Linked DNA regions of Homo sapiens: regions 1, 3 and 4 are each linked to region 2. The links are contacts of gene promoters, found by promoter capture Hi-C in blood cells and fetal thymus (Javierre and others, 2016). All regions are on one chromosome and are shown on one strand. Each heading gives the region's core, a stretch centred on a gene start or on the middle of the fragment in contact. The rest is flanking DNA. Distances are from core to core; before and after follow the strand shown. Region 1 overlaps CDC42BPA (CDC42 binding protein kinase alpha). Region 2 holds the start of CDC42BPA (CDC42 binding protein kinase alpha). Region 3 overlaps CDC42BPA (CDC42 binding protein kinase alpha). Region 4 overlaps CDC42BPA (CDC42 binding protein kinase alpha).

Evidence for each region. Contacts are between HindIII fragments. The CHiCAGO score rates a contact against its expected background, and 5 or more counts as called.
Region 1: a contact is called between a fragment that was not itself captured here and the fragment with the promoter of CDC42BPA in region 2, in 1 of 17 cell types (endothelial precursors). The highest score is 6.2, in endothelial precursors.
Region 3: a fragment that was not itself captured here is called in contact with the fragment with the promoter of CDC42BPA in region 2 in 1 of 17 cell types (endothelial precursors); the score reaches 5.8 in endothelial precursors.
Region 4: a contact is called between a fragment that was not itself captured here and the fragment with the promoter of CDC42BPA in region 2, in 1 of 17 cell types (endothelial precursors). The highest score is 5.5, in endothelial precursors.

The regions. Positions count from the first base shown.
Region 1 is chr1:227,112,074-227,117,630 of GRCh38, forward strand. CDC42BPA (CDC42 binding protein kinase alpha) reads right to left here. Exons shown (of 37, transcript NM_001394014.1): 13 at 598-840; 14 at 239-349. Among named protein-coding and RNA genes, the nearest start is that of COQ8A, 170 kb to the left of the region's middle. The HindIII fragment of the contact is 1,112 bases long and covers 2,369-3,480 here.
Region 2 is chr1:227,314,511-227,320,650 of GRCh38, forward strand. CDC42BPA (CDC42 binding protein kinase alpha) reads right to left here and starts at 3,982. Exons shown (of 37, transcript NM_001394014.1): 1 at 2,495-3,982. The coding sequence starts at 2,672. LOC124904531 (a long non-coding RNA gene) reads left to right here and starts at 4,082. Exons shown (of 2, transcript XR_007066911.1): 1 at 4,082-4,488; 2 at 4,604-5,551. The HindIII fragment of the contact is 5,578 bases long and covers 1,739-6,140 here.
Region 3 is chr1:227,129,593-227,135,358 of GRCh38, forward strand. All of the region lies in intron 10 of CDC42BPA (CDC42 binding protein kinase alpha), which reads right to left. Among named protein-coding and RNA genes, the nearest start is that of CDC42BPA, 190 kb to the right of the region's middle. The HindIII fragment of the contact is 7,743 bases long and covers 1-5,577 here.
Region 4 is chr1:227,159,807-227,165,800 of GRCh38, forward strand. It overlaps CDC42BPA (CDC42 binding protein kinase alpha), which reads right to left. Exons shown (of 37, transcript NM_001394014.1): 6 at 737-830. Among named protein-coding and RNA genes, the nearest start is that of CDC42BPA, 160 kb to the right of the region's middle. The HindIII fragment of the contact is 838 bases long and covers 1,360-2,197 here.

The DNA of each region.
Region 1 (5,557 bases), core at 1,675-4,174, 200 kb before region 2:
ATTCTAACTCCCTCCTGATAGATTCATATTTCCCACTAAACATAGTCCTCCATTTTCTTCAGCATAATTAAGAAATCTGTATTAGCTTCCTACTGGTAAGAACGAGAATTATGAATAGTAGGTTTGAAGAAAGGCTAGTTTTCACTGCACACCGAATACAGTATACAAGCTAACACTCCTAACAAGCCTAAAGAGAAGAAAATCAATTAAGCTTCATAAATGTGAAGTCAAAAGATACCTTCAGTCCCTCCAATTCATTTTCCAGTTGCTTAGAATAGTGCTCACTCTGTTCACGTAGCTTCCTGTCTTTAGATGCTTCAGCAGCTAGAGCTTCTGTATGAACTTCCAGCTTTAAAACAGAATGAAAAATGCAGATTTCACGGTTATAATTTTTTTCCAAACAAAACATTTATCCCAATGAGAATTTACCTTGTAACAGGAAGATAATTCAAATGTTTAAATCCATATTAAATAATATTAATGAACTATAAAAATAACTTTAGAAATATTTTAAAAATTATATATTATATTACTAGTCTCAAAAAGCAGCTTTAATCACTATCCCATGGGCACTACAAAATTTGCCTGACTACTAACCTCTTTTTTGGCTCTTTCTGTTCTGCGCAGTTCTTGCCTTAAGCTTTCAACTTTTTGCATCACCAGGTCCACCTCTTCTTCCTTATCTCGGACATGGCGAGCAAGTTTCTGTTTTTGGGTGTGCAATTCTGTTAGCCGCTCATTGATCTCCATGAATTCCTGCATGGCCAGTTTCCTCTGACAGTGTGCGTCTTTCAGCTCTTTGGATTGGTTTTTTAATCGCTCACTAGCCTGGACTAGTTCCTACAGTTTTGTAAAAAGAATATAAGTTACCAATTCTGCAACCTAGAGACCAAATTTGGCCATCAGAATAGCTATCATTAAGTCAAGAAGAGCCAAAATTATTCACCTTAGGACAAATTAAAAGAAATAAACTACTTCTGAACAGATATTAACGGCATGGTGTCCTGATATAGTCTCAATTCCTTATGCTAATACAGTAAATGCACAGGAGCTGCTGATTTAACCTTATAGTACCTTAGTTTCCACAAATGAGGAAAAAGTTTAGGAATAAACGATATGATGGTCAAAATAAATATTTGTGAAATTTAATAAATATGTGTGAGGTTGTTTTCATAAAAAACAAGTGTTGCCCTTGACATGGAGGCTACGCCTCAAGCCAGAAGCAAGGAGATAGAAACTAAACCGGAGACTCCCTAATTAAAATGAGAAACTTAGAGGAGAGCTAAAGTGGACTCAGGGCAGTACCACTACCTGCCTCCCAGCAAAAGGAAATGCAAATTTTCTTTGGGGGAAAGAAGTGCAATGAAATCTGAATTTTTCACATATTAAGAACAAACAAGAATGAGCTCACAACCACAGATTCCAAAATACTCAAAGAACAAAGCACCACAATCAAACAACAAAAACAATAAAAATAAACATCAAAGGTATCTTGGTATTAAAATCATTAGATATCAACACAAAATTGCTACATATGAAATATTTCAAGGAATAAAGGATGAAATAATAAAAACAAAAAAATGACAAAAGGCTATTAAAAATGACCAAGCAGATTTATAGAAGAACTGTATGGAACATTTAGAAATAGAAAACATAAGGCCAGGCACAGTTGCTCTCATCTATAATCCCAGCACTTTGGGAGGCTGAGGCAGGAGGATTGCTTGAGCCAAGGAGTTCAAGATCAGCCTAGGCGACATTGTGAGACCTTATCTCTACAAAAAATAACAATGTAAAAAAAAAAAAAAAGGCCAGGTATGGTGGTATGCACCTATAGTCGTAGCTACTAAGGTGGGAAGATGACTTGAGCCTGGGAGGCTGAGGCTGCAGGGAGCTGAGATCACTCCATTGCACTCTAGCTTGGGCAATACAGTGAGACTCCAACTCAAAAAAAAAGAAAAGAAAAGAAGTGAAAAAATATAAATGTTAAAATTAAAGACATGCATCCATCACCACAGGAAGCTCTACATTTATGAATCAAGAAAAAATTTAGAAAACCCAAACCAGAAGTGTTCAAAAAATGACGCTGGGTAATACCAAAGAGAAATAAAAGACCGTAAAGAAATCAGAGGGAAAGAAAGACAAATCACCTATTCCCCATCCTCAAATAAGGCGGGGAGGAGGAAAATTAGACTAAGAACAGACACTGAAGAAGTAACAACAGCAACAGAAACAGGGTAAAATATTTTCAAAGATATGAGAAGATAATTAAAATTATATACCCCAAAAATTACTTTTCAAGTCTGAGGCTTCATATAAACAAAACTGACAGAGCTTACCATAATCAGATCTGCACTAAAGGAACCAGTAAAGCTTTATTTCAGGAAAAAAAAAAAAAAGATTTTAGAGATCTAATGCAAGAGAAATGAAGAGCTAATAAAATGGTTAACATGAATGTGAATGTAAACAAATGTGTATATAAGATTATACTATAAAAATGTTAACTTTGTACAGTAAACAAAAGATAACAGCTAAAATACTGGCCAATAACAACACATAAAGCTGTAAAGAGGTAATACAGCTTGAATAATCCAAAAAATTTGAAATCTGAAATGTTTCAAAATCCAAAACATTTTGAGTGCCAACATGATGTTCAAAGGAAATGCTCACTGGAGCATTTCAGATTTTGGATTTTCAGGTTAGAAATACTCAATTGGTATAATGCAAATATTCCAAAATCCAAATGCTGGTCCCAAGCATTTCAGATAAGGGATACTCAATCTGTAAAATTAAACGTCTTTAAATTGTTTGTGGGAAATAGTTTTAGGATATTTAACTTAAACTTAAACTTGGTTAATACACATGGTAGAAGCCAAGAGTAACCACCAAAAGACTAGAGAGTAAACTAAAATGTCAACAACAACAACAACAAATTTCAGTGAAGAAGAAATGATTTTGCAAACAAAAAGAGTTCTGGAGACTGCTGCACAAGAATGTAAATACACTTAACATTACTTAACTGTGCACTTGAAAATTGTTTAGATGGTAATTTTATGTTATACGTATTTTACCACAGTTAAAAACTTTTGAGAAGGGAAGAAAGGAAATAAAAAGCAGCATGCAAAAATCATGACAAACAGAAAAAAAGATAGTAGAAACACATCCATATACATTAGTAACCAGTTAAAGGCCATCTATTATACTGGATTAAGAAATGAAATCTTGACTTCAGTAGAAAAAGTATTACTAAGGATAAGGAATATCACTACATAATGATAAAATTCAATACACTAAGAAGAAATATTATCCTAAACTTTTGTGCCTTCTATAAGAGAGTCTCAAAATCATTAAAAAGAAACTGTTAGAACTTCAGAGAAAAATTGGTAAACATCACTATAATGAAAAATTTTAATTTCTTAGTCATTAATAGATAAACCAGGTAGGCAAAAAAAAAAAAATAGTGAATATAAAGACGATCTGAAAAGCTTCATACACAGAAGCTTGCTCTCTAAATTGGAACACGAACTATTTTCAAGAACACACATTGAATGTTTTAAAAATGGAACAGGCTACGCCATGAAGCAAGTCTCAGTAGATTTCAAAGAACAGATACCACGTAGAGCAAGTTCTGTAATGACACTGCAACTAAATTAGAAGTCAACAAAAAAAGATAAAACTCCATATATTGAAAATTTTAAAAGATACTTATAAATAACTCATTGGTCCGTGAGAAAAAGCAGGAATGCAATTCAACTCTTTCTATGGACCAGTATAATCTGAATATCAAAAAAAAGAAAAGAGGAAAAAAAAAAACACGTCAATCTCACTTATAAAAAACAGTGAAAACCCTTTTTGAAAATTAGTAAATCAGTTCCAGTGATATATAAAGTAGATATGCATGAAGTCTGGAGCTAAACTCCTTGTGCTGAAAATCTAGCTCCACCACTTTCTATTTCTATGACCTTGAGCAAGTGAACTAACTTCTCTGTGCTTGGTCTCACCATTCATAAAATGAGAATAACACCTAACTCATGGGGCTGTGATGGAGATTAAATAATTTAATATATGTAAAGCATTCACAACAGTGCTATTAGAACAGATATTTGCTACATAAATGTTATCTATACTATCACAGTATTATAAGAAATTTGGGCTTAACCCAGAAATATAACAGTGGCTTAATATTAGAAAAAGTCTACAAACGTAGTTCACCACACCAACTTATTAAAGGACAAGAATCATATAATCATATCAATAGAGCACAGAAGGGCACATTTAATAAAGTCAGTATCCATTCTAAATAAAAGGTATTAACAAAATAGGAATAGAAGGTAACTTCTTTAACCTGATAAAAATTATTTATTAAAAACTTACAGCAAACATTATTAGCGATGAAATATCAGAGGCAGTTTCTTTAAAATCGGGGAACAAGATGGGGATGCCTGCTATTATCATTTCTAGTCAACACTGTACTGAGGTTCTAGCTAATACAGTAAAACAAGAAAAGAAATGAAAGTCTTTTCTGTATGAAATTTTATGGAAGAACATTTTAAAAGAACTTTAAATATATGGAGAGATATCATGTTTACAAATAAAAAGACTTTAGGAATGCAGAGAAACTTTTATGTTTTTGCAGCTGGTCCCTTTTGAACAAATTTTACCGAAACCTGGGCTAAATGAAAGTCTTAAAAAGTAACTTATAACTGATTTAGTAGTGAGAAAACTAAGAGATTTACCTTCTGGAGGTTATGTGTTTACATTTCAAGGTGGGGTGGGAGAGAGTAGGAGCCTGGACCAAGGGGGCTTCCTTTGATGGAGCAGGAGACTCTGGGCTTATATTTCCAGAGGGAATATTTATCTATATTCCAAAGGGTTAGAGAAAGAACCCAAGATCCTTCTCTTTAGATTTCCAAGGAACTCTCTCAGAACAGGAGAAAGCAGGAAGCAGTTGCTTCTTTCCTCTATATAAGCACCTGCATAAATGTTTTCAAGGCTCCTCATTTACAACACAGACTCCTTATGTGTAGGGTTTTATCCTGCCAGCTCTCAGGGTATTTCTCTTGGGGTAAGACTTGGCACAGAAGGGAGCCATGTAGTTATTCTTTGCTGTATGTAAGTAATAACAATCCGTTCTATTCTGGAAATCTGTGTGTATATTCAGAAAAATAGTAATAAATATAGATAGTAAGAACTTAAAGACAATATTGTAATGATGTTAATTCTCCCTAAATTGACCTATAAATTCAGTGCATTTTTTTCCCCCTGAGATAGGGTCTTGCTCTGTTGATCAGGCTGGAGTGCAGTGACATGATCATGGCTCACTGCAGCCTCAATCTACCAGGCTCAAGTGAACCTCCTGCCTCAGCATCCTGAGCAGCTGGGATGACAGGTGTGCACCACCCAGCTAACTTTTTTATTTTTTGTAGAGACTGGGTCTCATTCTGTTGTTGCCTAGGCTGGTCTCAAACTCCTGGACTCAAGTGATCCTCCTGCCTCAGCCTCTCAAAAGTGCCAGGATTACAAGCATAAGTCACCATGCCCAGCTGATTAAATGCAGTTT
Region 2 (6,140 bases), core at 2,732-5,231:
ACAAAACATTAACTGTACCAATATAAAAATAAAATGGACTAAAACTAGGAATAAAATGAAATTGATAGAAATGAAGCTGAATACAGCCGGTAAGAATCTTGGCTGACTGTACTTTAAGAGTAATCTATCATCAGCATAAAGATAAGTAGCATCTAGCTGACACTTTCATTAATATAAATAACGAACACAAATATGTAACAACTTGTGTTATTAATACTGCGTTCCTGTTGCAAATAGTCTTTTAAAGATTTAAATAAAAGACAATATTTTTTCAATTATTAAAAATTAAACTTAAAATTACACCATTTAAGGCAAATCTAAATTACCAAATTTAACCCCAACAACAATCCCTGTAAATTTCCACCAGAGTCCCAAAAAATAATGTTTAGAACACTGAACTGAGGTCAATTCACAATTTGGAAATATTCTTAGTCTTAACTGATTTTCACATATTGTTAAGTAATTAAAATAAAATAGGACATTTCCCCAAAATGCAGTTATCAATTCATATGAAGAACATCTGATCTATTTCAATTCTTAAATAGACTGGCACTCTTAACCTAAATTCTCAAATAACTTAAAGACAGCAAATACCACTACTCACTACGCAACTCCTGACAGCCTTTTCCATTCTTAACTTTCTTTTTACTCTTTATCCAGACTTCCATACTAATAAAAATAATACTCAGCCAAATACTTATTTGATATTTGGCTTATATAAAAATATACATAAATGAGGTGTTCTTATACATATATAAGAAACAACATCCAAGAAAACATATTTAATGGAAAATATATATAAATTATTCTGATAATACAGCGAAATATCTCATAACATAAAACTACTTACCTAAACTCTAATAATCAGAAGGCAATGGAGGATACAGTTTTCTCTTTATCATAAATCATTTAAAATTATATTTACTACTGGTACATAGAGTTCTCCCATAGCTTCGCAGATAGGAAAGAATACTAAATGACAAAAATCACAGACTAGAGTGTCATTAAGGAACCATAACTTAAGAACTCAAGTTCCAACTCTAAAAGTACCAAAACCCTTTAAGTCTTAAAAAAAAAAATTAACACTACAGAATTTCTCAATTTGTGAAACATGGGATGTAAAACTACATATGCTTTACAAAATACTTTATTCAACAAATAAAAGACGTATACTCACAAAACCAGTACCAAAGCCAAAATTGTCTCACTCTTAAGTGAGAAGTTACTTGAAAGATGGTTTAGATTTCTTACATTCCCAGGATGAGTCTGGCAGTCTGTTTTGAAAAGTTATTCTATTCACATTTACATATTTTTTTAAACCTTATGACATCACATTGCTAGAAACCTTCTTATACTGGCAAATTGAATAATTAAAGTTATTACGTGTAGACATTCTTGTATCAGTGGTTTACCTGAGAAACTAACTTTGAATAAATTTCAAATCCAAAAAAAAAAAAAAAAAAAGACACAATCAGCACTTGACTTTTACTTCAGGAAAATAAAGTTTTACTTGGGAACAGATATTTTAGCATAAGAACTTAGCATAAGAACAAACTAAAATGATTAGTATTCCAAAGGTACAAAATCATATTTGGCCAAAATCCTTCAAAAGCCAACGTACCACTACTACAGACAGATCTGGGTGACGATGCGTGCTTATTGCAACAGTGAACTTCTGGACCTTAGAATGTGCCCTGTATGTAACAGCAGACGCTGAAGAACTTGAGCCAAGCCTTCAAGCTTGAAGGTCATGGAGCGTTTGCTCACATCATTGATCTATTCCACTACAGTAGGTCTTCTAAATCACATCTATATTTAGAAGAATGAAGCCAAAAACCTAACCAGTTTAGATTTAAATTAACTTTCGAGTAAAATCTAACTCTCAAGTGGAAGCTGCCCCCAAACATTCTCTAACTACTATCACAAGATTTTTAAACTATGTCATTTAATCTTACAAACATAATTTTTGGAAAGTCCATGTTTAGCAGTTTCCTTTCCTTGTACTATGTAGAGATGAAATAAAACCCACTGATCACCACCTTCAGCTTTCTGTTGACCTAAGGCAAACACAGATATTTTAATATCTCCTCCTATTTTGAGAATAATTTCCATAGTCTGAATGTTTCCACCAATAAATACCTTTCAAATGAAGGACTATTATAGTGCCATGTATTAGGCAACTGTAACCAATAATCCACTTTTGCCCATCACAGAATTGATTTAAAATCTCTTACTGTTGACCTAAAAACATAAGTTCTTCATAGCCAAGTTCCACATTAGCTAGGCCTTAAATCAAGGCAACAATTGAGCAGCACAATTCTACTCCTGGGAAAATATTTACCAAAAACTAGCGGAAAATCTTGAATAACTAGTGTCTGTTTTTTTATTGTATTTTTTCTTTGAACGGAGTAGAGTTTACTCATAACTCTCTATACCAATTAAATCATAATGACCAGCTAAAGATTAACAGTTTCTTTAAAAATTACAAACTTACCCCATTCTAGGTATTCGAGAATGTTCTTCTCTCTTCTCAATGGAGAATTATTGCATTCATCATAAAGGCAGATGAGTATATCCAGTAATGTCTCCACACTGAAGCACTGCCCATTGGTCTGAGCGGGCCCGTCCAAAATAAACTGCTCCAACTGCCTCAAACGCACTTCTCCAGACATGTTTGCTTCGATTTCTGCTGGTTTTCCTTTAAATTATTATGATGACTTTTACTATTATCTGAACCTAAATTTTAAAAGGTATGGTTTTAAAAATAAACCACTTGTTATTCAAACAACTGTCATGCAATGCTGGTGCTGAATTAAACATCCAACACACCAGTAACCTCACTTAACTGAAGCGTCTTCAATTTCACCCATATACATATATTTTGAGGGTAAATTACCATAAAATATATACTTAATGCATTTTTAAAAGAATACAATTAAGTCGTATATTTAAATAAAATAATAATTAAAAGTACAACGAACTAGAGAGTCAACACTTCTTTAAAAAAAAAAAAAAAAACTCTTCTCCTTCATTCAAAATTCAACTCGTGCAACGTAATCCTGAAACGAATCCGGTTGCATCATTAATGAATAAAGTCCGATTTGCATCAGCAATTCACTTCCCGGGAAGAAGAAAAACAGAAAAGGGAGGAAAAAAACAGAATGCATAGAAGGGGGAGGGAAAACCAAAAATGTTGCTGCAAATCCTCCCAACCACCACTTGGATAATGCATCAGCGGCAATTTCTCCAGCGGGAAAGGGAGGGGGCGAGGTCCCTGAAGCAGCCCCTCGGCTCGGAGCACGCCAAGTCTTGCCCGGAGGCGGCTTTTCGTTTCTCCTCCCGAGGTCCTTCTTTCTTTAAGGCTTTGCAGTCAGTCCTATTTTCAACGGATTCCGGTGAAAACTCTTCATTTTCCTCCCGGCTTCACCCTAGGGCCTGACCGGCGGCGCGGCCGGGGGTGGAAGGCGGGCTGCGGGCGGCACTGGCACCGGGCTCCGGAGAAGCGGCTACTTGGCCGCCCGAGCCCACTCCATGTCGGTGGTCGCTCGTGGGCCGAGCCGCGCCGCGCCGCGCCGGGCAGAGAGCCCGGTCTCCCCGACACCCGCACCGGGCCGCCGCGCCGGAGGCTCCCGACGCCCCAGGCGGGGGGGTGCTTCTCTGAATTCAAAGGACACAAGCAGCAGCAGCTGCGGCGGCGGCGCGGGCGGCTCTGGCAGCTACTTCTCCCCCTTCTTCACACCCCTGGGCTAAGGGCATCTTTCCACAGCGAGGAGGGAGGCGGCCCGGCGCAGGAGGAGGGGTCGCTTCCGCGGCTGAGGAGACTAGAGGCTGCGGCAGCCCGGCTCCCAACCACTCCCTTCCTCTCCCTTCCAGCCCTCCCCCGCCTTCCCTCTCCTCTCGCGCTCGCGCCCTGGGCTCAGCGAGGCTCCTCCAGTCCCGCCGCACAGAGGCGGAGGCTTGCGGACGAGTCTGGATCCAATATGGCGGCCTGGCCCCCCGGCCCCGGCACACGCGCGCGCACACGCCCTCCACTCCCCGCCCCCGCCCTGCCCGAGCCTCAGCCCCAGCCGGCGGCCAAGCCGGGCGGGGTCCGGCCGGCGCGCCCAGCGGAGGCCCCCAAGGGGGCGCGGGCTCGGGGCCCGAGTGGCTGCGCCAGCCCGAGGGGAGGGGTGTGGACTGCCTAGGCGGCGAGGCTGCGGCTGCCGCAGCGTGGAATGCGGAGCTGCGGGAGGGCTGAGGGAGGCCCGGGCGGCGGTGGCGGAGCATATGGAGGCGGGATGACCGGGCCGCGCCGGGAGCTGCGGCGGGACTGGGCGCAGGCTGGGAACTGCGCCACCGCCGCGCCGTGGCCCCGGCTCCCCGAGGCTTCTGGTGCAGATCGCGAAGGGGGGCTCCTGCTCGTCCTCGGAGACATCACCTGTCTGGCGCGTTTGTTAAGGGCGCCCAGAAGCAGAGGGCTTTAGGCTTCCGACAGAGCTGGAGGAGACGGTGCCTTTCAGCCCCTTACCTGCTCCCCACCGGCCCCCCAGATTCGGTTCGCGCACACTCCAGAGTAATCGTTTCTTAGGTGTCTAATTACAGCACTTCGTGTGTCATTTCCCAGGACAAAAACAATGACAGACTTGTCCGAGCTACCATCGAAGTCTTGGGTCTGCACGCAAAGGATGGAATCCCCCATCTCCATTCCCAAAAGTTTCCCTACGGGAGCCTGGTGTTGTCTCCTCCGGAACTGTCCTCGCGGCTGCCTGTTTTTCCCTAGCCATGGTTACTGCCTGCGGGGGATTCAGCCTGTGAAGGCAGTCAAGGCAGTTCACCACTGTCATCAAACCTACACCCCTGTGTGCATGCGCACACACACTTGTAACCCAGTGGCACAATGCAGGAATTAGGGAAGCAAAGGCAAATCGCTGAATAGCTAGGGCACCTGATCCCTGTAGGGCCCTTCCAGGTTTTTGTGAATCTCGGTTTTAGGAGAGCTCCCTTTATAAAATTCTCATGGAAGATGCCACATTTAAATTAACACCACAAAACTAGGTCATTGCAGTTCTGTTACTTTCTCTCAAAATTGCCATCTCCTTTATGGTCGTTCTCTAAAATACAATTATTTTATATTCCTTCCCCACACCTGTGAGGCGGTTGTGTTTCTATGTTCATGTCCACAATTGCATCTTACATCTTGATAATATGGAAGCTGAGGAAGAATTAGAAATGAGGGCCTAGACGTAAAATGAAGGCTAACAGAAGTCGATTCAAGTTGTGATTCATGAAATAGTGTGAATCTTTTATGAAATCTACAACGTCTACACTTGCCTGGCTTAAGAACAGCATTATTTTCAATGCGGTCTTGACATGAATGATACTTAGATTCAAACAAAAGGTCAGTCATTTCCAGCCATGACATCTTTATATGGGTGTGTGTTGTCTAATTCTAAAAGTAGTAGAAAAGTTTAATCCTAACACAGATAATAAGCAATATTTTGGTGTTTATTATTCAAGTCTTTTTCCTATGCACTTTAACAAAAATGATACATAATAAAAGAGTTTTATAGCCTCTTGCTTGCAATTAGCAATATATTATGGACATTTTTTCAGTTCAACAAACATTCTTCAACAACATGGATTTTAATGGTGAAGCCAATTTTAACAGTTTCATTTGACCATAAGATGCGGTAGCAAAGAAGGAAGCAATTTCTTCTGCTTTTTCAAGTACGGTTAACTAAAGAAATGGCTCCAAGATACCTGCTTTTCCAACTTACAAATAACTAGAAAGAAGTTTAAAGGAGAACCTAAAACATGTTAGGTCTCACTAAATGCTAATTGACAATGGAAGTATATGAGATGTAGATACTTTTTTTTTTTTTAACAAAAGAGTCAAGCTGTCAGTTCTTTACCTATTCTATTAGCGCTTGGGTACCACCCACAGTCCAGGGTATTGATGGTTGCTAAATAACCCTTTCCACATTATTTAGAAAGTAGAGAGCAGAATTTATTTTTATTTTAAAAAACACACACACAAAGAGAAGGAAGGAGCTTGAACCCAATCAATTTTGCTTGAATAATTCAAGCTCAGAGACTTAATAATTAACTAGACACTAAACACATTGTGCGGGTGTTATTTTAAATGTTCCGGTTGAAGTGTG
Region 3 (5,766 bases), core at 456-2,955, 190 kb before region 2:
GGAGGTTGAGGTGGTAGTGAGCCTTGATCATGGCACTGTACTCCATCCTGGGAGACAAAGTGAGACTGTATCTCAAAAAAAAAAAAAAAAAAAAAAAAAAAATCCACTGCATATATATATATACAAAAGAATCCACCTTCTAATAATTTTTGGTTTTAAATACTATTGGCGTACTCTGCCAATGAATCAACTACATAGCTCCTTTTTCTCCTAGTAGGAACATCACCATGTGATAACTCAAAAGCCTGGTATGTCAGTCAGATGCTATACGAAGAACTGAATCTGGTTTACAAATGGAGAGTTAGGCATGTTAATATACATATGCAGAAATGCTGGCCTTCCAAATTTTATGTCTGAAAGTTGAGGCCCAGCTACAGGTAACCATGGCTCAACAATTTAGCTAAAATATTTAGTTAAAATAGAAAATATTAATTTATCTTGCACTTCTAATTAAAAAATACAAGGTTTTAAAAAAACAATAACTCTATTGAGGCTTATTCCCAGATATCATCAAAAGACATGGAACAAAGAAAACATTTTTTACCATTTTACATCAGAAATGAAATTGCCCTTTGTTCTAAAATAGGTATTCTGCTATTTATGGAGGGATTCTCACATAATAAGTCTCTCCCTTACCATAATTCTTTATGAGTTAGTGCAAATCATTACTGATTACTTTGTGTGTGCATATGTACGTGTGTGTGTGTGTAAACCATAATCCCTATATGTTTGGCAGTCAATAAATATTTGTTAATTTGAATTAAAGGTATAAGATATACTAGATTGTGCATCTGATGTTGATTTTCTGCATCCTATAAGTATTTCTTATACATTTCTTTCTCTTTGGGTTCAAAACATACTAAAAACTGGTCCTTTCCGTATTTATTATTTTGAAAAGAACATCCATTGTTTTTATTTTTTAAGACATCTAAATTGGGGGTAGAAAATGGGGAGACATAAAAATACCCAATGCAGGGGAGGTGTAGGTGCGGTGGCTCATGCCTGTAATCCCAGCGCTTTGGGAGGCCAAGGCAGATGAATCACCTGAGGTTGGGAGTTTGAGATCAGCCTGGCCAACATGGTGAAACCCCGTCTCTACTAAAAATACAAAAATTAGCCACGCATGGTGGTGCATGCCTGTAATACCAGCTACTCGGGAGGCTGAGGCAGGAGAAACGCTTGAACCTGGGAGGCAGAGGTTGCAGTGAGCTGAGATCATGCCACTACACCCAGCCTGGGTGATAGATCGAGACTCTGTCTCAAAAAAAAACAAACAAACAAAAGACCAAAGAATACCAAATGGACATTAATAGGAGCTACTTTTCCTCCTGTACCCCACCTACCACAGGTATGAAGGTGGGGCAGGCATCCTCGCTCATTATTGCCACCTCTTTCCTCAAAATTCCTAGGTCTACTGAAATGACCATTTCCTGCTTATGTGGTTATCCACTTGTCTTCCCTATCTTACTCTTTTTTAAATAAGGATTTTACATGTTGTTCTCTGCTGTTCTTTCCATTACTACTCTTCTTATTATTCTTAGTAACTTTAACATCAAAATAGATAATCCATCTAACACTGACTTCTGAGGCACATAAATCCCCTACGGCAGATACTGCTTGTTTTTACCCGACATCTATTCATCTCTTCTGTCTTGTGAACCAAATTCAATTATCAGGCTACAGTGTGCACATGTAAGGTGGGCCCAGTCAAAACTGGCTGGTTTAAGTTAATCATAATAATTCCATTCTACATTGCAAGTGTTGGTCAAGAATTAGGTATGTGACCTAGTTAGAACTTAAATGGTACCTTGAGAAGAAGTCCACTAGGGGGCTTCAGGGAGAGGTTTTAATCTCCCATTAAATGAAAGATGTATGAAACTAAATGAATCTTTCCACTTTCTGGGTCTCTGGATATGTGCAGATATGAAGATGGAATTCTTGGTGTACTCTGCCAATGAATCTACTTAGCTCCTTTTTGTCCTAGCAGGGAACATCACCGTGTGATAAATGAAATGCCTGGTATGTCTGTCAGATGATATATGAAGAACTGAATCTGGTGTATGAAGGGAGGTCTTACCTTCCAAAGTTTACATCTGAAAGTTGAGGCTTACAATATTGTGGAATCATGTAAGGAAAGCCAAGAAATTAATAGGGAAGCTACCCTAAAATTGGCACTGAAACCATTTACTTCTGACTTAAGTGAGAAAATAAATCCATATTATTTAAGAATTCTCACATCTGCAGCCCAAAACAATCTAGCTGATAGACTTCTCTCCAGCATAACCATCAGATTAACTGGCCACATCCTAAACTAGTGGTTCTCTACTGCAGGTGGTACCATCACCTTATGTAAGGGGACAGGAGAACGGGAGTCAGTTGTTGACACAGCACATGAGGAGACTGCTACAAGCATTTAACATCTGGAAACTCAGAATGTTCAATATCTCAGAGTGTGAAACTCTCTCTCATGTGAAAAAATTACCTCACCCCAAATGCTTGTGGTTCACCAATTAAGAAATTCAACCCTCTCCCTCTCCCTCTCCCTCTCCCCACGGTCTTCCTCTCCCTCTCTTTCCACGGTCTCCCTCTGATGCCGAGCCAAAGCTGGAGAGTACTGCTACCATCTCGGCTCACTGCAACCTCCCTGCCTGATTCTCCTGCCTCAGCCTGCCGAGTGCCTCAGGCGCGCCGCCACACCTGACTGGTTTTCGTATTTTTTTGGTGGAGACGGGGTTTCGCTGTGTTGGCCGGGCTGGTCTCCAGCTCCTAACCGCGAGTGATCCGCCAGCCTCGGCCTCCCGAGGTGCCGGGATTGCAGACGGAGTCTCGTTCACTCAGTGCTCAATGGTGCCCAGGCTGGAGTGCAGTGGCGTGATCTCGGCTCGCTACAACATCTACCTCCCAGCCGCCTGCCTTGGCCTCCCAAAGAGCCGAGATTGCAGCCTCTGCCTGGCTGCCACCCCGTCTGGGAAGTGAGGAGCGTCTCTGCCTGGCCGCCCATCGTCTGGGATGTGAGGAGCCCCTCTGCCTGGCTGCCCAGTCTGGAAAGTGAGGATCGTCTCTGCCCGGCCGCCATCCCATCTAGGAAGTGAGGAGCGCCTCTTCCCCACCACCATCCCATCTAGGAAGTGAGGAGCGTCTCTGCCCGCCCGCCCATCGTCTGGGATGTGGAGAGCGCCTCTGCCCCGCCGCCCCGTCTGGGATGTGAGGAGCGCCTCTGCCCGGCCGCAACCCCGTCTGGGAGGTGAGGAGCGTCTCTGCCCGGCCGCCCCGTCTGAGAAGTGAGGAGACCCTCTGCCTGGCAACCGCCCCGACTGAGAGGTGAGGAGCCCCTCCGCCCGGCAGCCGCCCTGTCTGAGAAGTGAGGAGCCCCGCCGTCCGGCAGCCACCCCGTCTGGGAAGTGAGGAGCATCTCCGCCCGGCAGCCACCCCGTCCGGGAGGGAGGTGGGGGTCAGCCCCCACCAGGCCAGCCGCCCCGTCCGGGAGGGAGGTGGGGGGGTCAGCCCCCCGCCCGGCCAGCCGCCCTGTCCGGGAGGCGAGGGGCACCTCTGCCCGGCCACCCCTACTGGGAACTGAGGAACCCCTCTGCCTGGCCGGCTGCCCCGTCTGGGAGGGAGGTGGGGGGGTCAGCCCCCCGCCCGGCCAGCTGCCCCGTCTGGGAGGTGAGGGGCGCCTCTGCCCGGCCGCCCCTACTGGGAAGTGAGGAGCCCCTCTGCCCGGCCAGCCGCCCAGTCCGGGAGGAGGTGGGGGCGGACAGCCCCCCGCCTGGCCAGCTGCCCCATCCGGGAGGTGAGGGGCGCTTCTGCCCGGCCGCCCCTACTGGGAAGTGAGGAGCCCCTCTGCCCGGCCACGACCCCATCTGGGAGGTGTACCCAACAGCTCATTGAGAACGGGCCATGATGACAATGGCGGTTTTGTGGAATAGAAAGGGGGGAAGGGTGGGGAAAAGATTGAGAAATCGGATGGTTGCCGTGTCTGTGCAGAGAGAAGTAGACATGGGAGACTTTTCATTTTGTTCTGTACTAAGAAAAATTCTTCTGCCTTGGGATCCTATTGATCTGTGACCTTACCCCCAACCCTGTGCTCTCTGAAACATGTGCTGTGTCCACTCAGGGTTAAATGGATTAAGGGCGGTGCAAGATGTGCTTTGTTAAACAGATGCTTGAAGGCAGCATGCTCGTTGAGAGTCATCACCACTCCCTAATCTTAAGTACCCAGGGACACAAACACTGCGGAAGGCCGCAGGGTCCTCTGCCTAGGAAAACCAGAGACCTTTGTTCACTTGTTTATCTGCTGACATTCCCTCCACTATTGTCCTATGACCCTGCCCAATCCCCCTCTGCGAGAAACACCCAAGAATGATCAATAAAAAAATAAATGAATAAATAAATAAATAAATAAATAAAAAAGAAATTCAACTATACACTTTGTCATTATCAATAACTGCATGGCCTCCAAAATCATCTCTCTCATCTGTACAGCTTACTACTCTAGGGACCACTTCAACAATTTTTCATTCCAACCAGAAATGCCAATCAATGTGTTCCTAACATTTTCCATTTTTTTCCTCTTTACTTTCTTACTTACCCTGGTTAGATTCTTTGGTCCATCACTGTTTTGCAAATACCTTCAATTTCTTTACCCTTCTCTCCTCCATTGTACTTATTCTAGAAGGCCCTCTATCTTGGATAATTTCTACTCTCCTCCTACTGTATGATTTTACCCAAGTAGCTGAAAATGGCTGAAAAAAATACACAGTCATTTAAAACTCATGATTACTGAACTTAAATAACTTGGAAATATCTGGCGATCCTAAACTATTTCCCTAGCTCATTTACTCTTTTCGTCTCCATACTGACCATTTCACATTTTCTCTTTTTCTTGTCAAATATCTAATATCTCCTCTACCTTCCTAACTCTCAGTGGATGACCCTACTTTGTATGTGATTTATTGTCTGTCTCCTCAAAACAGAATGCAAACATAACAAGGGGAGGTATTTTTGCCTTTATCTGCTTTTTATTACATTCCTGGTCATGGGCAGTACAGCTCCTGGGCTGTTTGATACTCAATAAACAGCTAATAAATGAATGAATCAGTTTAAATGTTAATCTATGTCACTGCTATGAAACAAGTATTCATACCAAAAGGCAATGATCTTACATTTTTGTTCACTTTGCTCTGTGCAAACGATACTACACATGTAAAAATACCAAGAACAAATTAAAGAATTCAAAACATTTAAAAAAAACCCAAAACATAGGAAATTCTTAGTCATAAGGGGATGGACTAGGAAGCAACAGGTCACTGCTTTGTTTCTCCTGCCGTAGAAAGTAAAAATTCAATACATAATTTGAGAAAATCTTATTTTTAAAAACATCTTTGGTTTATTTTACTTAGTTCTCTTTGCTTTTTCAGTTGGAGTTGGGAAAGTGAGCCAGGGAAGTGAGGCATTCTGAGGTGAAGAGGCTATTACAACTGCTTCTTACCTGGAAGCCTTATCCATTTCTGTGAGTGTACTTAGGTCAAGCCTGGCCTTTAAATTGAGAGATAACATGCTGGAAAGAAAAACCACTGAAGCTTCTGGAGGATGTGTGGGGATGGTGCAACAATTTGGAAATCTCAAAGTCCCTAAGCATATGGTGCTTTTATTCCCATGGTATATTTTAATTGATGTACTTGGGGGCTGCATGGGAAGTTAGGGAGCTTTGAAAAGTCAGACAGAAATCTCCGATAGTACAGAATTATTTCAGAGACAAAGAGCTGC
Region 4 (5,994 bases), core at 529-3,028, 160 kb before region 2:
TGAGCCACCATGCCCAGCCTTTTTTTTCTGGGTGGCTCTGGGGGAGTGAGGGGGTGGGAGACAGGACTTCACTGTTGCCCAGGCTGGAGTGCAGTGGTGCAATCTTGGCTCACTGCAACCTCTGCCTCCCATGCTCAGGAGATCCTCCCACCTCAGACTCCTCAGTAGCTGGGACTACAGGCACGCACCACCATGCCCAGCTATTAAGTAAACAAAAAAAACCAACTGACGGGTTTAGGGTTAGCAAAAGTTAAGCAAATGGGAACATGAAACTAAATCAACTTGTGAACTTTCTGAAAAAGGGATTCATTTGTTGAACACTATCCCTTAGAATAACTAAGCAATTTAGGAAAGAAAGACAAAAAAGTAAAAGTGCGGGCAAAGCTGCGTTTTCTTTTTCTATGTGAGACTTAGTTCTTTTACCCCCGGTGAACTTTGAAATATCTAAAGTACAACAGAAGTCACCAACTAAAGAAGGAGCAAACAAGGGTCTCATAAAGGGTATATTTTATCAATCTTAAGATCACTGATATAAGCAGCTGAAATGGCTTGTGACTTTTTAGACAACCCCACTGTAAGTATGCCCAAATGCCTTTGTGGAAGGAGGTGGCGCATAGATAGACAAATGGATGGATGGGTAGATAGTATAAATAGATGGTTTCTAAAACAGATATATCAGACAAATAGCAAGGGAAATGTCTGTGAACAAAATAATTTAGGATTTATCTTTATTTACCGTTCCATCTTCCATCAGCTTCAGACAAGAACCAAAATCTGCTAACCGAATATGTCCATTCATATCCATCAGTATATTGTCAGGTTTAATGTCTCTGAAAAAATAAATAAATTCAATTTTTAGTGGAAAAATAAACAATTCATTGTTTGGTAAGATATTCTTTTTGTCAGAAAAAAATCTCAACTTATTTTAAAAGTAATATTCTAAGAAAATCTATTTAATTACTTTATTAATTCAAATCCTGGTTCTGATTCATATTAAAACTTTCTCAAACACATGTAATTTCAGTATTCTTCTAGAGATAAAAAGTAGTGTGGTAATTTTCATTCTGGTTAAATTAATCTTACTATCTTTCCTTTTGATTTACACAGATTCCAATGTGACTATGGTAGACCTACTTTCTGCATACAGAAGAGTCAACATTACCTGATAACCACAAAAAATACTATCCTCTAGCCCATGAAACTGGACAGGGAAAAATATACTTTCTAGACCTTAAGATAACTGCAGATAGATAAAGTCTCAATTACTGCAGGTCATGACAACACAAAGAAATTGCTTCATAAAGTTGATTTTACAGAAGAACTAAAACAACTGCCTAATAGACTGTCTATATTATTTAAAGCTTTCATTGTCTTTGGATGTTAAGTCAATGGTGTGTAAGATACCCAAATCTAAACTATATCATATACCAGCTTTTGTATTTGTTTTTGCATGTGAATGCAAACCTTAGAAAAATAATCATATATAAAATGGTTCTGTAAAGAAGATTCTCAGGGACTTAACAATATTAAGTTTCTAATCATAGTAAAGGTTGTAATTGTGAATAACTAAGAGATTATACCCACCCAACTCACTCTACTTTTAGAGGGAGAAAAAGAATCTCTGGAGAACCTATATATTTTTTAAAAAATTACATTGCCATGTAAATTACAGGAATATGGGAGGGCTACTTTAACCTGAATAATGCCATTTAAGATCTCTATGCTTCAGTTTTACCACCCATAATAAGGGTAAAATATTATAACAGTATTACTTTGATTACTGAAGCAATTTCTCTGAGTGTGTTGTATATCACGAGTTAGTAAATTATGGCCCACGGCCAAATCTGGTTTGCTGCCTGTTTTTGTAAATAAAGTTTTATTGAAACACAGCCATGCCCATTCATTTAGGTATTGCCTATGTCTGCTTTCACACTACAAAGGCAAAGTGAGTAGCTGTGACACAGACCACATGGCCTACAAAGCCTAACATATTTACTCTCAGGCTGTTTATAGAAAAAGTTTTCAAACCCCTATTGTAGATGATAGATGGTTGCTAAAGAGAGACAGGGTGATTGAAAACAACAATCTGTATAGGGTATTAGCTTTATAATCCTCAACATTTGACTGTATTCTAACCTGTTGAAAAAGATCTGCTGTAGAGGAAACATCAAAGAAGTACAGTTTAGTTCTGGAAGGAAGCTTAGCAATTACTAAGACCATTTTTAGATGAGGAAAAAATATTTTATTCTTTATCTTAAAAATTAAGCTATACAGTCACTACGAATTACTTCTACTGGTATAGTACTTCTTAGATTGTAAAGGAGATTAAAGGAACTGCAAAGACAGGATTTATATGCATCAATAATATCTTTGCTTATTTTATAGATAGTAATTATAAACTATATACATATACATAAAGCATATTATGTGAATATATTTTATTCATAATACTATATAAATAAAATAGAAAATACTAAAAATTAACAAGACATTACAGATAGTACTGAAAAACATAAGTATTCTATTACCATTCCTGATCTCATCCTCTCCCTCCACTACCCAGACATAGCTACTATCCTAAATTTGGTGTTTACTGTATCCATGCATATTTTACACTATTATGCCTATATACAACATCATAAAACTATGTACTTTTTAAAATGTCTTTATAAATGACACCAAACTGTGCATTGCCTTTTGCAACTTGGTTTATTCAAATATTATGCTTCATCAGCTGGGTGTGATAGTTCATGCCTATAATCCCAGCACTTTGGGAGGCCAAAGGAGGCCGAGGAGGGAGGATTACTTGAGCCCAGGAGTTTAAGAACAGCCTGTGCAACACAGTGAGACCCCTTCTCTACAAAAAATAAAAATGAAAAATTAGCTGGGCAGGATGGCACATGCTTGCGATCCCAGCTATTTGGGAGGCTGAAGTGAGAAGATCACCTGAGCCTGGGAGGTCAAGGCTGCAGTGAGCCGTGACTGTGTCACTACACTCCAGCCTGGGTGATGGAATGAGAAACTGTCTCCAAAAGAAAAAAATAAAATAAAATAAATATATATGTGTGTGTGTGTGTGTGTTTCCAAACATATATGTGTGTGTATATGTGTGTGTTTCCAAACATATGTGTGTGTTTCCAAACATATATGTTTCCAAACGTGTGTATGTTTCCAAACATGTTTCCAAACATGTGTATGTTTCCAAACGTGTATGTTTCCAAACATATGTGTTTCCAAACATATGTGTATGTTTCCAAACATAAATGTGTGTATGTTTCCAAACATGTGTGTTTCCAAACATATATGTGTGTATGTTTCCAAACATATGTGTGTGTATGTTTCCAAACATATATGTGTGTATATGTTTCCAAACATATGTGTGTATGTTTCCAAACATATATATGTGTGTGTATATATGTTTCTAAAACATCTATTTTGGGACATATTGTTTTAATTCATTAATTTTAATTAATTTTAATTATATACATATCAAAATTTATCAATTCTCCTGATAACGGAATTTTGATTGTTGCCCATTTTTATTTTGTTAAAACACAGAATGCTGGATGAATATTTTAATAAATGTCTTCTAGTACTCATATATGAATGCTTCTCCAGACTATAGATGTAGAAGTGAAATTTCTGAGATGAAAGATATGGACATCTTCAACTGTGCTAGCATGATTACGAATACAGTTGAGAATCTTTTCATATTATCACTGGTATCATTGGTCATTTTACATTCCTCTTCTATAAAATGCCTGTTAATATCCCTTGCCGTTGTAAAAATTGTGTGTGCACTGTTTTTTGTTTAATCTTCAGGGATTCTATTTACTCGAACTTAGTTCTTCATGATGTGTTACAAATCCCTTCTCCCTGCATGTGGGCTTGTTTTTCCATTGTTTTTAATGTCCTTCTTATTTGTAAAAAAAAAAAATATATATATATATAAAATACTAATGTAGTCTTATAATTTATACTATGATTTCTGTCTTCCCAGACATCATAAGGATGGTGTCCTAATTTTCTCTTGTGTAAGTTTTAAAGTTATGCTTTTCCAGTTTTTAAATCTACCGGGGATTAATTTTTGTGTGTAGTGTGAGATAAAGGGCAGTTACATTTCTTTCTACCCCAGCACCATTTACTGAATGATATCCTTTCACCACTATTATCTAATACCACATACGTCATAAATTTAGTGGGTTTGTTTCAGGACTCTCAAGAAGAGCAAAAATATTACTGTATTACTCTATTTTTTTTCAGTTGACAATCTTTACAGTGAAAGGGAGCCTATTAATAATTGCCAGGATAACAGGCATAAATTGGAACTCTCCCACACAAGCCAAGATGAATGGCCACCCTATCCATATGCCTCTACCTGCACCAATACCACAGTGTCTTAATTATAAAATAATGAGCTTCCTATCGGCAGAGCATATTTTTTAATTGCCATTACTCTTCTAGATCAATGCTGGAATTAGCTTAATATGTTCTATAATACATATTGAAATTTTTATGGGAATCATGATTTTATAGATTAATCTGAAGAGAACTGACATCTTTGCAATGTGACACTTCCCATCTGTATATACACTAAACCTATAAGTCTTTTTTTATATTCTTCAGTTATGAATTATTTTCCACAGAGAACTTACATATCTCATCTATAGGCAACATAGTGAGACTCTGTCTCTATAAAAAAAAATATTAAATCTTAGGCATTGTGGTGCATGCCTGTGGTCCCAGCTACTCAGGAGGCTGAGGTGGAAGGATCACTTGAGCCCAGGAGTTCAAAGCTGTTGTGAGCCATGATCATGCCACTGCACTTCAGCCTAGGTGAGAGCAAGACTCCTATCTCTTTTCAAGTGCGTGCGCATGAGCGCACACACACGTGCACGCACACACAAACGCACACACACACACCCCTAACTAAATTTTTAAAAATTCAGACTCTGGAAACCAGATCCTAGTTTCAAAACATTCAGTAAACTCTCAATAAATCACTAAAATGCAAAGGGCTCAACATTACTCTTATCACTTCACATTTTCTTCCAAATCAATACATAGTCTTCTTGTATAAATAATCTTATGTTATATATTAGCAGCTGAGAGAAAGACAGGTTTTAGGAAATAAAATTTCAGGATCCCATAAGCATGTTGGGGGTAGAGTGAGGGTTGGGATAAGAATGTAACAACTGACAAAGTAAAACATTCAATAAGCATTAATTAAACATTTACAGCATGCAACAGCACTGAATTAAATGCAATACTATGCACTATAGGAGTACATAAAAGTAGAAAACAGAAATCCTTCTTCTTATTCCCTCATCACCCCAAAAATATTTATGGGAGTAAACATGTTTATCTCTGCTCCCTCCAGAACTACAGTAAAATGACAATACAAGAACTAAAAGGTAGAAACTCACAAGTGAATGTAAGAAAAGACAATGGAAGATGATGGGTGTCAACACAATTTTCAAAGATGGAGAACATACATATGATAAATAATGCAGAGCCAAGGAAGCTGAATTATAACTGCCTACAAGGTTGGGAGAAAGGAACTAAATTGACTTGATACATGATTTGATGTACTCGAATACTTGAAAATGTACTGTTAGGCATTTAGTACACATAAAAGGAAATTTTAAGAGTACTGACAAACAACTGAAAACAAATTTGAGCCTATTATTAATTATAGGAAAAATTGTTAGATAAGAAAGGAAAAAATTATAGTATATTTCTTGGCTCAGCAATAAACAATATTTACAAAGTCTCAAAAATGCAACCATTATCTACCAAGAAGATCAAAAATAGTGATAAAAGTATAGTGAGAGAATGCAGGGAGGAAAAGTAGAAAGAGGAATACAAACAGCTAAATCCTCCACTAGCATAGAAGGCAGGCAAAAGAAGTCTTTACAAACTGTCCAAAATTCGCAAATCTAGAAACATCAACATATCAGGACATTAGAGATATGGGGCTAAATAACTTTTAAA